2 separate regions of the Homo sapiens genome follow, and region 2 is linked to region 1. The links are contacts of gene promoters, found by promoter capture Hi-C in blood cells and fetal thymus (Javierre and others, 2016). All regions are on one chromosome and are shown on one strand. The core of a region is centred on a gene start or on the middle of the fragment in contact, and the rest is flanking DNA. Distances in the headings are between cores, read along the strand shown.

Region 1 (3,888 bases), core at 549-3,048:
CTTTATGGCTTCACTCCTTTGGGTTTTTTGCCCCCCCGCTCCTTTTTTTTTTTTTTTTTTCTGAATCCAGTCCCTCCCTTTGGAGGGGCTGAATTTCTTCTTAGCTTGCCTTTCATCAAGTAGATCCATTTGGAGAGGAGAAAGCCATTAGTCCTGTCCCATGATTCCACATAATCTGAATGAGGCCAGGCATTGGTGCCCGCGCCTGTAATCCCAGCACTTTGGGAGGCTGAGGTGGAAGAATTGCTTTAACCCAGGAGTTTGAGACCAGCCTGGGCAACATCGTGGGACCCCACCCTGTCTACAAAAATCAAAATTAGCCAGTTGTGGTGGTGTGCACCTGTGGTCCCAGCTGTCTGGGGAGGCTGAGGCAGGAGGATCCCTTGAGCCTGGGAAGTCATGGCTGCAGTGAGCCATGATTGTGCCACTGCACTCCATCCTGGGTGACAGAGTGAGGCCCTGTCTCCAAAAAAAAAAAAAAATCAGTTACACTACCCAATTGCCTAGTCTTGGAGCCTGATAATTGATGCCTTCTCCCTAACCCCAATCTAATCTGTCACCAGTTTCTGTTTTGCCTCCTATGAATTTATCCTCTTTGCTTTGTTTCCACACATTCTAGTTCAAGTATCTCTCTTGTGGCCCTGCAGTGGGTCTCTTATCTGGTCTCACCCATTCTGGCATCTCTCCTATCTATTCATACTGCAGGCAGAGGAAGCATTTAGAAAAATACACTTCTTATATTACCCACTTAAAATCCTTTGGTGATGTCTTAATCTGGTCAAAGACAGCTGGCTCATAAGGGGAAACTAGGACCAAATCCTTTTTCCTTCAACCAATTAGACCCTCACACAGAAAACTTAAACTTAGCATATATGAGTAAGACAAAAAAACTTCAGATCCAGTGGGGAGGAAAAGCAGATGGCTCCTAGTCCAAGGGACAGAATGGGTCACAGCTCCTAACAGGGCTGACTGCAGCCTTGGGTAGTGGGGGTGTTAGATTGTGGCATACGGGTGGCATATATGGGTCCCTAGTCAAGGACAGAGCAGTGGTTTTATCAAGGGGTATAACCCTTGTATAAGGTGTAACCCGAGTGAGTATCCTATTATGTCAACACGGCTCCAGAAAGTTGTTCAGTCATTTTCATAGTGAGTGCATAAGAGTGACTTTTCTGTACTCTATTATTCAGGTCCACATAACTTACCTGGATCAAGAGGAGACAGGTAGAGACCCCCACGAGTGTGGCAGCGGGTTAGGGAGGGAGGTGGTTCTGGGTGTACCAAGATAGAGCTCCCGTGGAAGAGGAAGGCACGGCCCGTAGTGGCTCTAATCGGGAGAGAAGAGGGAAAGGAGGGACGTCGCTGCCCGAGGGAGTAGTTAATGGAGGAAGCAAGAGGTGCCAGGTACTATTCAAGTAGCTAAGGGGGAAATGACGACTTCTGAGATTGGGTTGTCTAGTAAAGTATGACTTCTTAGTTAAACCTCGAGAGTGGACAAGTGGTAGAGGAAGGGAGGGGTGAAGGCAAAGAACGCTACTCAGTAACGCTCGGTTCAGCAGTGGTGCTGTGGACTGGAAAACAGCTACCGAAGAAAGGCAGGGGATTATTTTTCCTCGTGCATCCCGGCCCAGGAGGCCGCGCCCTTGGGAAAGCGGGTCTCCAGAAGGGCCTAGCTTTCCGTCAGCGGCGGTGCAGACAGAGGACAACACGGCGCGGTAGCTGCACCGCCTCGGCGGAAATCCCGGGCGAAGGGGTGGGGCGGAGCCGGGAAATCCGGGGCTTCCGGCGCGGCCAGGGCCCAACTTCCGGCGTCCGTCGGGCAGCAGCGGGGCTGTCTATCCCGGCTGAGGACCCGCGGCCAGTGCGGGTGGCTGGCTTTGCCATTAGCGGGGGCCTTTCCTGAGGACGGCGTACGGAGTGTGGGTGAGAAGCCGCTGTAGGACTGAAGAGGAAGAAGCGCAATTGGGGCCGGGAGGCTGCAGATTTTGTGACAGGGTTCGGGAACTACTAGTGGCGCCCCCAGGCCGCCCCTCCTCTCGAGCCGGGCCGTGCGCTCTTGCTCTGTGCGCATTCCCTGTTTTCCGCGTCGGAACCGCCCTCTTTGCAGTGGCCCCGCGCGTGCGCATAGCTGGGCGCGAGGCGCGCTGTGGGTCTCTGCGGGGCGGATCGTGAAGCTAGTGTGTCAGTCATTCCTCGAAGCGTGCTCTTGGGCTGTATTTTGGAGCTAGCGTCCCTCCTGGTCAGTTTGGCGTTTTTAAGGCCCTGGTACTTGGTTTAGAACCGAGTGCAGTGACCAGTCTTGAGGCCCCTTCCCAGCCAAGAGATGGGGGGATGGAAGTTGAGTTGGTGCTGAAAGAGTTTGTTGTTGGGGCCTTCCAGCTGTGGACACCGGGATTCATGAGTTAATTCACGATCTTTATTGAACGCCTAAATAACCCAGTGGGAAAGGCAACACAGTCCCTTATGCACAGAGCTTAACAGTTTAGTAGGAGAGGCGCGGGCTGGTAACCAGGACAGTGGTAAATGTAGTAGGACCACAGGTGGCTCCTAGCCTAACTCTGGGAGAAAAGGAGTTGGACCCAGAGGAGGCACGCCAGAGGAAGTGATGGTTATCAGAGACTGAGGGCTAAAGGGATTGGCCAGGAGATGAGGGTGTAGAGGGGCCCGAGTAGTTGCAGACAAAAGTCCCGCAACGAGGGAGGCAAAGTGTAGAGCTCTTGGCCGCCTGCAGTACCATGGAACTTGGGTGCTAGTAGAGACAAATGTGTTGGAGAGGGTAAACCAGGACTCTGTCCACCAGTGTTCATTGTTCAGACTTTATCCAGAGGTCAGCGGGGAGTCACTGGAAGAGTTTTAACTGGGGAGTGGCTGAATAATACCGTCATTTATTGAATGCCTACAGTGGTTCCAGAAAAGTCTGGAACCATATAGGGAAGGAAAGAAAATTTGTACTTCCCAGGGGTTTTAGGAGGCATGTTTTGTAGCGCCCCAATTTCCCAAGGGAAAATTTGTATTAAAATCTCTTGTTGTAAGTATGCAAGTTTTGAATAATATGCCATAATATATATTTAGATGTGTTTTCTCAAATCCTCAAGTTATACTAATGCTTTAGAACTTTGCATCATGTGTATCCTGTGATTTTTGTAGCCCTTGATATATCCATAATGTTCCCTCCTTGCTTCTCTCTCCCAGCCCTCCACATACATAACCCAACCTTTCTCTGAGCGGGACACAATTCACAATTCTTTATAGGTATTACTTTCTTTAATCCTCTTATCAACCATTAGAGTTGTGTTATTATTTCTACATTAGCAATGAAGAAACTGAGGCAAAAAGGTTAAGAAGGTTGCCCAGGTTCACCCAGCTAGTGAGTGGAGATGTATACCCAGGCTATAAATTTATACAACTCCTTTGTTCTTGTCCTTAACCACTGCACTGTTGCATTGTAGGGAATAATTTAGGGCTGGTAATAGGAGATGCAAAGTAGAGAGGACAATTAAGAAGTTGTTTAAATAGTCTAGATGAGAGTTGATTTCCAACTTCAAAAAGGTAGTTTTAAAAACGATGAAGAGAAGTAAGTGGATATAAGACTGTAAAGGAAGTAGAACTGACATAATTTGGTGTCTGGATTGATGGTGCTGCCAACCACTCATAAGGATGGCTGGGAAAGAGCACCTTTGAGGGTGAAAGGACTTGGATTGAGATGCCCCAGTGATATTCAAGCCCAGATGTCCTCTGAAGTATCTGGAAGTTCTCCTCTTGGGATGAGAGAATATGGCTTTTCTTCTTTGCATTGAATATGTACCACTGTCAGTGGTTTATGGCTCTTCTAAGGGGTGTCCCATGTAATTTGTTCCGATTATGGGAGATGGGTATGGACTCAAGATAAAC
Region 2 (3,888 bases), core at 657-3,156, 600 kb before region 1:
TTTGGTGGTGGGGCTGGTCCCTCATCTAAGTCCTTCTCAGCCCTAATAGAGATGCCCGCACCTGCCCCACCTGGCTGTGCCAAAGCCTGCCCTGGAATTGAGATGGTGACACCCTCCCTGCCCTGACCCTTGCCCTTGAGAGAAGCCTCAGATCCTGTCTAGTGGTCCAGAGGCCTGGTTCTTCCTCCCAGCTCTGACTCTGAGTGTTTCCAGCCATTTTTTTCATACCTCTGTGCTTCAGTTTCCTCACTATAAAACTGATAAGTGGCCAGGCGCGGTGGCTTATGCTTGTAATCCCAGCACTTTGGGAGGCCGAGGCTGGTGGATCACGAGGTCAGGAGATGGAGACCATCCTGGCTAACATGTGAAACCCCGTCTCTACTAAAAATACAAAAAATTAGCTGGGCGTGGTGGTGCGCACCTGTATTCCCAGCTACTTGGGAGGCTGAGGCAGGAGAATTGCTTGAATCTGGGAGGCGGAGGTTGCAGTGAGCCAAGATCATGCCATTGCACTCCAGCCTGGGTGACAGAGCAAGACTCCATCTCAAAGAAAACAACAAAAAACAAAAAACAAAAAACTGATGAGTACATTGCCTGTTCTAGGCAATTGCCTGTTCTAGGCCAGGCATGGGGGCTATAGACATGAGTAGGCTCTCCAGGAGTCTGTGGGTCCTGCAAGAGGGCAAAAAGGAAACAGAAGCATGGGACAGCATAGGTATCAGGGACTCTGTATTATTTTAAAAGTGTGCAAGGAACATGTGGGAAGGAAAGACTGGACCGATTCTGCCTGGAGCAGGGAGAGAATGCTTCCTGGAGGAGGCAGCTATTAAACTGAGGCAGGAAGGAGAAGTCAGCGTTCACTAGGCAGACAGTAGGAAATGGTGTATCTGGCAGAGAACAGCAGGTGCTAGGGCTTGGAGATGCAAAAGTGACAGTTAAAAGATATCACCTTAAAATTATTGAATTTTAGAGCCAGAAGGGACCTTGGAGATCATGAAATCTAGTGGGTTTTCAAACATGTTTTGGTCTTATTTCAAGCATATGTAGAATTCCATTGTATACACCAGTTAATATTAATAGCTAACATTCATTGAGCGTTTACCGTATGCCAGACACTTTACCTGTGTTAATTCAATTACTTTTCCCAACAATCCTTTGAGTTAGGTTACTACTAACATCTTAATTTATAGATGAGGAAAATGAGGCATAGAGGAGTTAAGAAACTTGCTCATGGTCACACAGTGTCAGTGAAAAGGCTAGGAATTGAACCCAGGTAGCCTGGTTCCTAGCCTAGGCATGTGGTTACCAGGCTGTATGGCCTCTGTAGATGTGAAGGTGGAGCTGCTTGTTTAAGGAGGGGTGGTACCCAAAAGGCCTTGTCCCCTCCTCATCCACACATTTCCCGCTGAGACCCATGGATATAACCTGCCAGCAAGAGGCTCCCTCTGAAACCACTGATTTAGATCAATCATATGATGGAGAAGCCATATCTGTCAGGTTATGCCATAGATTCCAAGGTTGTCCTGTAATGATGAGTAAGCCAGGGAAGGCTTTCTGGGGAGGGAGTGCCCATTTCATGTCATTAACACCCATTCTCTAACCATGTGGGGTGTTTTCTAGCAAAAGCTTCAGCCTTGTGGGGAGGATGCATGGGGGTTGGCAGGACAGCACATGGCTTGGTTTCCAGCCAGGACTCCTTGGTCGGTTTTCTTCAGCACTGAAGTACTCAGGTCCCAGGCCTGAGGGCAGAGGCAGGAGGAGCAAGACTCTCAGCGGACTCCATGTGGTTGATGATTGGCAGGTGGAGATGAGGAGCATGTGGGAAGTCTGCAGGTCCCAGGCAGAAAGTGCACTGCCAGGGCATCAGTGCAGGTCCCGGACATCAGTGCAGCGCCAGAGCATCAGTGCAGGTTCCGGGCAGGGCATCAGTGCAGTGCCAAGGCATCAGTGCAGTGGGTAGGAGGGACAACCCCCTTCACACTGACCGCCCCCCTCAGCTTGCTTTAAAACAGAAGAGGGTGGGATTTTGCCTTGGTGTCGGGAAAGGGCACGGTTATGTGAGGGCTGGTGGACAGGGGAGCAGTAGTTTGATTCTTGTTGGAGGCCACCCCTCCCAGTTCCCCTTACTGAGGGATTGGGGGGTACTAGAAACCCTCTGAGCTTCCAGGTCCTCATTCTAAGCTTCTAGTGTCAGCTTCCAGGGGCCAGTGGAGACCCTGCCTCCTCCAGGGTTCTTTCCTGACCTCCCAGCCCGTAGGGTCCTCGGTCCCTTGGGGCATCACTAGATCCCTCTCTGGTTCTTGCTGGTACTTTTGGCCACAGCTTTACACCCTGCTTTCCCATCCCTAGGTGCTGTTTCCCCCAGGTGGGCATCCAGCCTGTTCCAGGTATTGATTCATCCAGCATTTAGTGAGTGGCTACTCCAGGCGTCAGGCACCAAGAGGGGCCTGCCCCTCAGCAGCTCCCAGTGTGGTGTGTGTGTGTGTGTGTATGTACATGTGTGTATGTCTATATGTATGTGTACATGTATATGTATGCATATATATGAGATGTGTGCATGTGTATACGTGTGCATGTGTGTATGTATATGTGTATATGTGTGTATGTGTATATGGGTGTATGTGTGTGCATATCTTTGTATACATGTGTATATGTGTTTATATCTGTGTGTATGTGTGTATATGTATGTGTATGCATGTATATGCATGTGTGTATAAGTGTATGAATATGTGTGTATAAATGTATGTATATGCATATGTGTATAAATGTGTGTATGTATATGCATATGTGTATATAAATGTGTGTATGTATATGGGTTTATAAGTGTATGTATATATGTGTATGTGTGTATAAACGTGTGTATGTATGTATAAGTGTGTGTATGTATATGTGTATGTGTGTATGTATGTGTATGTGTGTGTATGTATATTTGTATAAATGTGTGTATGTATATGTGTGTGTATGTATATTTGTATAAATGTGTGTATGTATATGTATGTATAAGCATGTATATGTATGTTTATGTATATGTGTGTATATGTGTGTATGTGTGTATATGTGTGTGTGCATGTGTGTGTATATGTGTGTATCTGTGTCAGACTGACAACTGAGCAGGGAGACCAAGTCAATGACTGTGGTTTGGTCTGAGGAGGGCTGAGACACACACAGGCTGAGGGCCCAAACTTACCCTGAAAACTGCGGCCGAGCCCAGTAGCGGCCATCCCAGTAGCAGGTATGGGAGGCTCTTGTTAACGACCCTATCAGTGGTCCGCAAATCCACCAGAAAGGCGTAGCGTCCTTGTTAATTTCAGGCCTCTCAAAAGCAGCCCTGCCCAGCCTGTCCTGGCCCTCTCCCCTGAACATGTCATCCCTAAAATCTTGACCTCCTACACTTAAGGAGGGCCCTCCTTCCCTCCATCAACCCCATGCCCAAAGCAATCCCCTAAATCCACAGCATCCCGAATTCCAGTAACCCTTTAGAGGTTCGCGCATCCCATTACTGTTTTGGCCCTGTCCTGTCCTGCGTGGGCCAGCCAGTGTGATGTTGGTTCCTTAGCAGCCCTGGGGAGAAGCAGAGGGCGGGGGGCGTGGGGAGAGTCGAAGGAGCCATCCTGGATCCGTAGGCCTCCCGTCCGTCCGCGGGTCAGTGCGGCATCGCGGACACCAGGGGGCGCCAGAGCGTCGGGTTTCGCGCGGCTGCCCTTCGCAGTCCAGACGGCGCGGCGCGCGGCGGCCGCCAGGGGTCAGCAGAGCTCAGGGCCGCGGGCGCGAAGCGCGGGGCTCAGGGCTGGGCGGCGGCAGCTGCGTTCCCGGCTCCGAGCGCCGTTCTCTGTTAGGAGGGTAATTTAGAGCAATTACACCGATTATTATTGCTTTTCTAATTAGTGC

The links. The method cuts DNA at HindIII sites, captures the fragments that hold promoters and counts their contacts. A CHiCAGO score of 5 or more calls a contact.
Region 2: a contact is called between a fragment that was not itself captured here and the fragment with the promoter of HDHD2 in region 1, in 1 of 17 cell types (M0 macrophages). The highest score is 5.2, in M0 macrophages.

The regions. Positions count from the first base shown.
Region 1 is chr18:47,148,410-47,152,297 of GRCh38, reverse strand. It overlaps HDHD2 (haloacid dehalogenase like hydrolase domain containing 2), which reads left to right and starts at 1,798. Exons shown (of 7, transcript NM_032124.5): 1 at 1,798-1,920. RefSeq lists an enhancer at 2,330-2,389. The HindIII fragment of the contact is 10,382 bases long and covers 1-3,888 here.
Region 2 is chr18:47,749,133-47,753,020 of GRCh38, reverse strand. No RefSeq gene overlaps it. Among named protein-coding and RNA genes, the nearest start is that of SMAD2, 180 kb to the left of the region's middle. RefSeq lists a silencer at 3,655-3,834. The HindIII fragment of the contact is 555 bases long and covers 1,629-2,183 here.